2 separate regions of the Homo sapiens genome follow, and region 1 is linked to region 2. The links are contacts of gene promoters, found by promoter capture Hi-C in blood cells and fetal thymus (Javierre and others, 2016). All regions are on one chromosome and are shown on one strand. Each heading gives the region's core, a stretch centred on a gene start or on the middle of the fragment in contact. The rest is flanking DNA. Distances are from core to core; before and after follow the strand shown. Region 1 overlaps ABCC11 (ATP binding cassette subfamily C member 11). Region 2 holds the start of DNAJA2 (DnaJ heat shock protein family (Hsp40) member A2).

Evidence for each region. The method cuts DNA at HindIII sites, captures the fragments that hold promoters and counts their contacts. A CHiCAGO score of 5 or more calls a contact.
Region 1: a fragment that was not itself captured here is called in contact with the fragment with the promoter of DNAJA2 in region 2 in 1 of 17 cell types (naive CD8 T cells); the score reaches 5.2 in naive CD8 T cells.

Annotation. Positions count from the first base shown.
Region 1 is chr16:48,228,243-48,232,526 of GRCh38, reverse strand. ABCC11 (ATP binding cassette subfamily C member 11) reads left to right here. Exons shown (of 30, transcript NM_001370497.1): 2 at 588-704; 3 at 1,954-2,090. The coding sequence starts at 606. Among named protein-coding and RNA genes, the nearest start is that of LONP2, 14 kb to the left of the region's middle. The HindIII fragment of the contact is 4,111 bases long and covers 538-4,284 here.
Region 2 is chr16:46,970,890-46,975,261 of GRCh38, reverse strand. DNAJA2 (DnaJ heat shock protein family (Hsp40) member A2) reads left to right here and starts at 1,588. Exons shown (of 9, transcript NM_005880.4): 1 at 1,588-1,767; 2 at 3,307-3,366; 3 at 3,690-3,913. The coding sequence starts at 1,690. It overlaps DNAJA2-DT (DNAJA2 divergent transcript), which reads right to left and starts at 1,490. Exons shown (of 2, transcript NR_186372.1): 1 at 1,137-1,490. RefSeq lists enhancers at 1,177-1,266, 1,327-1,396 and silencers at 1,827-1,876, 1,907-1,986, 2,137-2,186, 2,217-2,286, 2,637-2,716. The HindIII fragment of the contact is 5,496 bases long and covers 1-2,936 here.

The sequences.
Region 1 (4,284 bases), core at 1,344-3,843, 1.3 Mb before region 2:
CCTAACTTGTCCCCAGATTCCTTCTGGGGTCTGTGAAAACCAAGAGTGAAAGCAGGGAAAATGATGTTTCTTTCATTCACATATGTGTCCATTCATTCTTCATTTATTGAGCACCTGCTCTCCTCCCAGCACGTTCCAGGCCCAGGAAATTCAACAGCGAGGAAAGCAGACATGTCCCTGTGCTCATGAGGCTCTCTGTGTAGTGCATAAATGAAGTCTGAACAAATAATGATTCAAACAAATACACAGTTAAAGACTGGGATAAAGCAAGAAGACTGATTTTATGAGCAGGGGTTTGATACATCAAAGGAGATTGCCCAGGATCAAGGGTGCGGTGTTGGGGGTGGGTTGGGGAGGGTGGTTAGAGAAGGTTTCACTAAGTGATTTGGGCCTGAGGCCTGAGAAGATGTTTAAAAAGAGGGATCAAGCACAGGCTAAGGAGAGGAAAGAGCAGGCACCCAAACCTCTGCATGGCCCCAATATGCTCCCTGCAGGGTAGTGCCCCCTCTTCTGGCTGCTCAAGGCGAGATCTAAGCTTCTTCTAACTCCTGCTGTCTTTTCATATTCTCTGATTCTGGGAAACGAAGAATTGGCAGGAACTGAAAATGACTAGGAAGAGGACATACTGGGTGCCCAACTCTTCTGGTGGCCTCGTGAATCGTGGCATCGACATAGGCGATGACATGGTTTCAGGACTTATTTATGTAAGTAGATCTCTTAGCATCAGCACACCAGGAAACTGAGTTGGCAGAATATTCTCCACGGTCATAAATTACGTCAAACAATTTCTTCCCATACTTATTTACCCTTGAATTTTTTTTCTTTTCTCTTTTTGCTCTCTCTCTCTCTCTTTTTTTTTTTTTTTTGACTCAGGGTCTTGCTTTGTCACCCAGGCTAGAGTACAGTGGCACAATCATAGCTCACTGACACCTCCTGGGTTCAAATGATCCTCCCACCTCAGCCTCCTGAGTAGCTAGCTGGGACTATAGGCACATACCACTACGCCCAGCTAATTTTTAAATTTTTCACAGAAATGGGGGTCTCCCTATGTTGCCCAGGCTTGTCATGAACTCCTGGCCTCCATCCTCCTGTCTTGGCCTCCCAAAGCACTGGGATTACAAGCATGAGCCACCCCACCCAGCTACTCTTGATTTTTTTCAAATAGACCTCAGGCTTCCACAATGAGATCAATTATAATCCATCATCATGGCATACCTTCATGGTTTATGCATATCTCTATGCATAATATTATATAGAGATTAGATTGTATCTATCTCTCTATCACCTATTACCTATTTATCTATGCATTTACTCATATTAATAATAATAATAATAAGCATCTGCAAACCCATCACCAATACATCAGCTTGGACCTTGGCAATCACACGCAGCAATTGGTCTTCCCCCATGTCATTCCCCAACCCTTCCTACCTGATGTAACCACTATTCTGAATCTCTTTCTGTCAATCCTTGCTGTGCTTTTAAAAAGTATTATTTTATATAGAATATATTATTTATTCTATATGAAGTCCTAAAAATTACCTGTCCTTTTATTTTAGTTGTCAAAAGGGAAACATATAATATTTTAGGATTTGCTTTTTTACTTGTTGGTTTCTTTTTAGTAGATTTACCCTCAAAGAGTGACTTGGTCCCTCATTCTGCAGGTAACTAACTATGGCACCCTTTATTCCTGTCTAAATTGTTTACTGTCAGATAAAAATCCAAAGAGGTAGAGTGACTGGGCCAGACTCACTCAGCAAATGTGGGTCAGAGCGAGTGCTGGGATCCAGTTGCCCTGACTCTCGGTCCCCTGCTTATTCTCGGTATGGAAGCCTTTCTTTAGGAAGCAGGATATGGAAAAATCCATTTCTCCATGGGCAGCTGGTCCAACATTCCCTCAGGACAGAATTTACGAGATTTGAAACTGATGCTCTTTTGTTTTTCTTTTCCAAGAAAACCTATACTCTCCAAGATGGCCCCTGGAGTCAGCAAGAGAGAAATCCTGAGGCTCCAGGGAGGGCAGCTGTCCCACCGTGGGGGAAGTATGATGCTGCCTTGAGAACCATGATTCCCTTCCGTCCCAAGCCGAGGTGAGTCCTGATGGGGGTGGTGGGAGAGAGCTGTATCCACCAGGGCAATGATCCCCAACCCTCCCAACTAGACCTCTCACGAAGGTTGCATAACTACATCCCTACACAGCCAAATCCCTTCAGAGCAGCCTGAGGCACACCAGGGAGGCACATCGTCATAGCCATTCATTCATTATTTATTCATACAGAAAGGATCATTGAGCACCTACATGTGCCAGGCACTGTGCTACATCACAGGGGAAGAACAGTGAGCAAACAGACGTGATCTTTGCCATCATGGACCTCACATGGGAGAGAAAGACAATAAGCAAATAAACTTGTGCATGACATGATTACAAGCTGTTTGAGGAAGGTGCTGTGAAGAAGTATGCGAGTGTTGAGGGACCGGAGAACCATGACAACTTGGTAGGTTCTGAGTGGCTTAAGCTGAGTGACACCTAGAGGGAGAACAAGAATTTCCTAAGCAAGAGTAGGAGAAGAATGATCAAGGAACAGCCTGTGGGACAGCCTTGCCTGGAGGGGCAAGGAACACAGCATGATGTGTCCAGGAACTGAGAAAGAAGGAGGCCAGTGTCACTGGAGAGTCTTGTGTGATGTGGGTGTGGCATGAGGTGAGGCTGCAGAGGCAAGCGGATCAGACAGGTTCTCAAAGGCCACATTAAAGTTACCAGCCGGCCGGGCGCGGTGGCTCACGCCTGTAATCCCAGCACTTTGGGAGGCCGAGGCGGGTGGATCATGAGGTCAGGAGATCGAGACCATCCTGGCTAACAAGGTGAAACCCCGTCTCTACTAAAAATACAAAAAATTAGCCGGGTGCGGTGGCAGGCGCCTGTAGTCCCAGCTACTCAGGAGGCTGAGGCAGGAGAATGGTGTGAACCCGGGAAGCGGAGCTTGCAGTGAGCCGAGATTGCGCCACTGCAGTCCGCAGTCCGGGCTGGGTGACAGAGCGAGCCTCCGTCTCAAAAAAAAAAAAAAAAAAAAAAGTTACCAGCCTTGGTTATGGGAGTAACCAAGTTGATTTCCAACATGTTTTCTAAGATTTTTATCTATCAACAAACTGCATTTGTTTGCCCATTTTTAAAATCTGAGCTTCTGTCAATACTAGTTACATTGTTACCATATTGAATTATGTTATCTCCACCAAGAACAAAGAACCTTGGTACTTTCATTCACCTGGGTAACCTCATCTTAGATAAATATATTGTTTCTGTTGGGGCTTTAAGATATTAGCACTGGCTCATAGGTCTTGCCCTGTCTTTTGTGATCACAAATGGTACAATCTCTTGCCCTCCCCTCACCCGCTCCTTGCTCCAATATCCCTGGCAATGGCATGTGGCCAGCCTTGTTGAGAATGCTGTGAGGATATGAAAGGGTAGAGAAAAGACGTCATAGTCCCTCTCCCCTACCCCCCAAAAGAAATCTTATAAGTTCGGCATTTTCATCTTCCCATCTTTCTCCTCAAGTCTCTTTTCGAATTGCATTTTCTTCCCATTGAAACACATAAACTTAAAGGCAATTTTGAAAAAAAAAAAAGTGGAAAAATGACACATAATCCCAATACCCTAATTTAGTCATTTTTGGTATTTGTAAATCATTCTTAAAGGTAATACCTTATCATCTTTAATTATTTATGTATTCAATTTTATTGTTTGTAAAAGTTTCACAGAAGAATTAAAGCCTTGAGGACCTCTCTTCCTATTTCTTTGTCAACTCCAACTCCTTTTTCAATGTCAACCACTATCAGCAATGTGATATAAATGTACATACTGTTTTGTCTGCTTTCTCTCCTTTCTTCCTTTTTTATATAAGTGAAAAAAATACTGAGTTTTTTTTTTCTTTTGAGACGGAGTCGTGCGCTGTCTCCCAGGCTGGAGTGGTAGTGGCGTGATCTCGGCTCACTGCAACCTGTGCCTCCCGGGTTCAAGCGATTCTCACGCCTCAGCCTCCCGAGTAGCTGGGATTACAGGCGTGCACACCACCACACCAAGCTAATTTTTGTATTTTTAGTAGATACAGGGTTTCACAATGTTGGCCCGGCTGGTCTCGAACTCCTGACCTCAGGTGATCCACCCTCCTCGGCCTCCCAAAGTGCTGGGATTATAGGCATGAGCCACTGGGCCCAGCCAATACTGAGTTTTTAATCTGCAAGTGGCTTTTTTTTGGCTTTTGCTTGGAACTCTTCCTGTGTTTTACA
Region 2 (4,372 bases), core at 339-2,838:
CAGCCTGGTCAACATGGTGAAGCTCCACCTCTACTAAAAATACAAAAATTAGCCGGGCATGGTGGTGGGCGCCTGTAATCCCAGCTACTCGAGAGGCTGAGGTGGGAGAATCACTTGAAGCCGGGAGGTGGAGGTTGCAGCGAGCTGAGATGGCGCCACTGCACTCCAGCCTGAGCGACATAACGAGACGCTGTTTCAAGTAAAAAAAAAAAAAAAAAAAAAAAAACAAAAGAGTTCGAGATCCTACCACAAAAGGTACAAACGAAGGGTGGTGGGAACTCGAATGAGATAGCAGTGTTCACCAGTGCCCAGTAAAGGAAGACTTCACAGAGGGAGCAGGATTTCAGATGGGATTTGAGGAAAAGGGTTTAAGGACTATTAATGACTTATCACTGATTACTCTTAGGGTTTTCAAGCTAAATTTCAGAGTCCTTGTCATGGAATTCAGGCCCTCCACAACTAGGTCAAAGGGAACGCCAAGGAAGAAACATTATCCTGAGTGAGATGCTTATGCTGAAGTCTTTGCTATCAGTTCAGGTTCCAAGGGATCAGAAAACCTTACTTTTCTGTCTCCATAAACCGTAAATGGGTTGAAGGCAGGCACTTTTGTAACACTCCTCTCCCCGGACCAGGCCTCTGTACATCATAGCACTTGGTAGATGCACAGCATACTTTCTGAGCGAAACTAAAACGAATGTAAATCAAGTCACCTGGTGGCCAGACTTGCCTTACACCATCTAAACCTCTGGTGTTAGCTAATTTTAAAGCTATCAAGTAAGAGGCTTAAACACGTGGTCCAGATGCAACATGTGGACCTTGGTTTGGACCCGGATGCCACAAACCAATTGTAAAAGGACATGAGATCATCTGAAAAACCTAAATATGGACTGGGAATTAGATTAAGGAATTGTTAATTTCATTAGATGAGATTACATCGTTATGCCTTTAAAAGTTGTCTCTTAGATATTAAATATATACACTTAGGGTATTTATGAATGAAACGGTTTCCCTTAAAACACTAGAAATGTATGGTGGAGCCAATGAAACAGGTAAAAGGTAGCTAACTGCACTATGGGGAGTAATATACTGCTTCTGCTAAATGTTTCAGAATTCTCATAATATAAAACACAACATACACACACACGCGCCCCCCAGTTTTTTTCATCGTAAGCCCCGAGGGAGCCAGACCCAGAGGGTCCACCGACGTCCCGGATTCTAATAACGACATCTGCGCGCCAGGCGGGCCTCCTGCGGGAGCCGGGGCCCATTTTCTTTCGAAGCTAACGAAGCTGCTGCGCAGGCCTGTTAATTCCCTCAGCAGCCAGTGCGAGGTTAAACACGCGACCTCGCAACCATGGCTTTTGAGAGGAAGCTGAATTCCTGGGGTGCGCCGTGCACAGTTCTTCATTTCCTACGTTGGCCCTGCCCAGCCGCCTGGACCTGGAGGAAAACAGAGAACCTGGCCCACTCTTCAATACTTCGACCCCAGTGGCCGCGCCTCGGGCGCTCGGGGGCGGGCTCTGCACAGCGACGTCACGGCGCACCGTGCGCTGGGTCAAAGTTCAGCCCCGCCCCCGCTTCCCCCTCGCTGTCTCCCTCGGCCTGTGCCGCCGCCGACGCCGCTTGTGGGCCCGACTCCGCTCTGTCTGCTTCGCCACCTTCTCCCCGAGCACTGCCCGGCCGGCCGCCATGGCTAACGTGGCTGACACGAAGCTGTACGACATCCTGGGCGTCCCGCCCGGCGCCAGCGAGAACGAGCTGAAGAAGGTATCTGGGAGCGGGCCGGGCGGGTGTGAGGGGCGCGGGGCCTGCGCGGCCAGGGATGTCTTCTTCAGCCAGGCCGCGCTACTGGGCTGCCCGCGAGCCGGCGCCGGCCGTGACTGGCCCGGGCTGGGAGTCGGCGGCGGCGGCGGGACCGGCCTCGCCGCGAGCCGCGCACTCCGGCCTCGGCTGACCTTGGGGCCGCCGGCCCCGCCCGCCCGCAGATGCAGCAAATAAAACTCACTCCTGCGCAAACACGATGGGAGCCCTTCCTTCCTCCCTCCTTGAACGAGCGCCGGGGGCTGGTATCCCCCGGGAGGCAGCAGCTCGCCCGGTCCTTCGCGTCGAGGTCACCACCCCGGAAAAACAGGTTGGACCGAGGTGCTCAGCGCATCCCGGCCCCGAGAGAGAAGCTGTCCGCCCCGCGGCCGTCGGCCCCGGGTCTGGTGCTCCGCGGGGAGGAACGGCGGGGAGGTCGAGGCCGCCCCCACAGAGCGCCTCGGGCGGATGGGGTTGTTTCCTGGGTTCCGCGGCCGCCGGCTGCGGGAGCTCCTCCCTCTCTGCGTCCCTCGCCCATTGACCCGGAGGTAGCTGGGTCTGTGTTTGGATGCATTGTTCTTTGGGCAGGTAATGCTAATGTCCTGTACCTGCTTAGGAATAAGCCGTGGTCCCAGCCAAACGCCTGAGTGTACAGTAAACATAAATAGAAGGCCTTATTATTGCTATTTGCAATGCTGCGATATCTTTCATCTCAGGATTTCAAAGCACACGAGGCATTTAAGCCCCACAGCATCCTCACCAGGCTAAGAGCATCCAGATTTGTAAGCCGAGAAAAATGAGAATGCTCCTTAGGCAGTGAGAAGAGTACAGTGGACTTCCTGTTACCTTACCGGAAATGCTAGTCTGTATTATATAATTCACGAGCCTCCGTGAATGAAGATTTAAGTGCTTTAGGACCCAAACACCTCGTTGAGAGTGTGTGCAACTTCTCTACCACCGAAGTTGCCACCACGACCCCAGTTAACCACCACGTGCAAATAAAACACCAAAAGACGCTAACTAGGACCACCTTTACTTTTTCATGATGTTACAGTTAGAAGGAAGGCGTGAGCCATCGGGAGCAGGAATTGTGACTTTAGCTTGATTTATAGTAATGTTTTGCAGTCCGCAAAGCTTAACAGTCATTTATCTCGAATTTATTAGGGTCGTCTTGGTCTGGTTACTTGGCCATCAAAGACACTTGACAATAGGGAAAATATGGATAATGTTTGAACGTTTTGTTTTTCCCTGTGGCATTGCTTCATTGTTTTATCTGGTTTTCACGTCACTGTAACCTGTTTTCAAGTATAGCTGCTGTCTACTTGGTTATATTACATTAGTAAACAGTATCGCGAGAAAGTGCCGAAGAATCCCTACGAATAGAAAATATTTTTGAAAGGTTATAACTCTAGAACATTACTTCTCAGAAAAGTGGATATTAAGTTATTACAAAACTTTTAACTGGTGTTTAGTTATAACCTTTTTTGTTTTTATCCATTTTCAAAGGCATACAGAAAGTTAGCCAAGGAATATCATCCTGATAAGAATCCAAATGCAGGAGACAAAGTAAGTTATTTGCACCTTTTTTATTCCGGGGGTTTTAGCTTTAACTTAAATTGCCCTCCTTGAAAAAGAGGAATGTTGCAGGAAAAAAATCCAACTATGCCCACACAGCCACATTTTCATAATGTCAAGAGTATTTTAGTTTTAGAATAAGAGTACTACCATTCTGAGGAGCGGTGGGTGGTAAATAGAACCAGAATCAAGTCAAAGGTAACTTGTCCCTTTTTTTTTTTTTTTAGAATTAAATGGATTCTGGATTCCTGTAGCTTCTCCCCACTCTTCTACTTGAAAATGCAATTATTTTTATTTTTACCTTTTCTTTATAGTTTAAAGAAATAAGTTTTGCATATGAAGTACTATCAAATCCTGAGAAGCGTGAGTTATATGACAGATACGGAGAGCAAGGTCTTCGGGAAGGCAGCGGCGGAGGTGGTGGCATGGATGATATTTTCTCTCACATTTTTGGTGGGGGATTGTTCGGCTTCATGGGCAATCAGAGTAGAAGTCGAAATGGCAGAAGAAGAGGAGAGGACATGATGCATCCACTCAAGTGAATATCTTGTTTTGTTGTTTTAAAAAATTAAGTACTTTTTGTCAAGTGGGATAATGACTCAGTAGATGAAAAATCTCATAGAGTGTTCTGTCCTTCATTAGAAAAACTTCCATTTGCCTTGTCTTCTTTTGGTGACTAAATTGAATTTGATTATCTGAATGTTTCTATTTCGCTGTAGCTCTTAAAAGGACAGTCGATATTTTTTAATGAGAGGAAGGTGGTTTTATATGGTTCTGAGGCTGCTTGTTATTATAGGACTTAAAATTTCAACTGTGAAGATCATTTTCTCTCTCTCTCTTTTTTTTTTTTTGAGACCGAGTTTCGCTCTTGTCCAGGATGGAGTGCAGTGGCACAATCTCAGCTCACTGCAACCTCTGCCTCCTGGGTTCAAGCGATTCTCCTGCCTCAGCCTCCCAAGTAGCTGGGATTACAGGCATATGCCAACACACCCGGCTA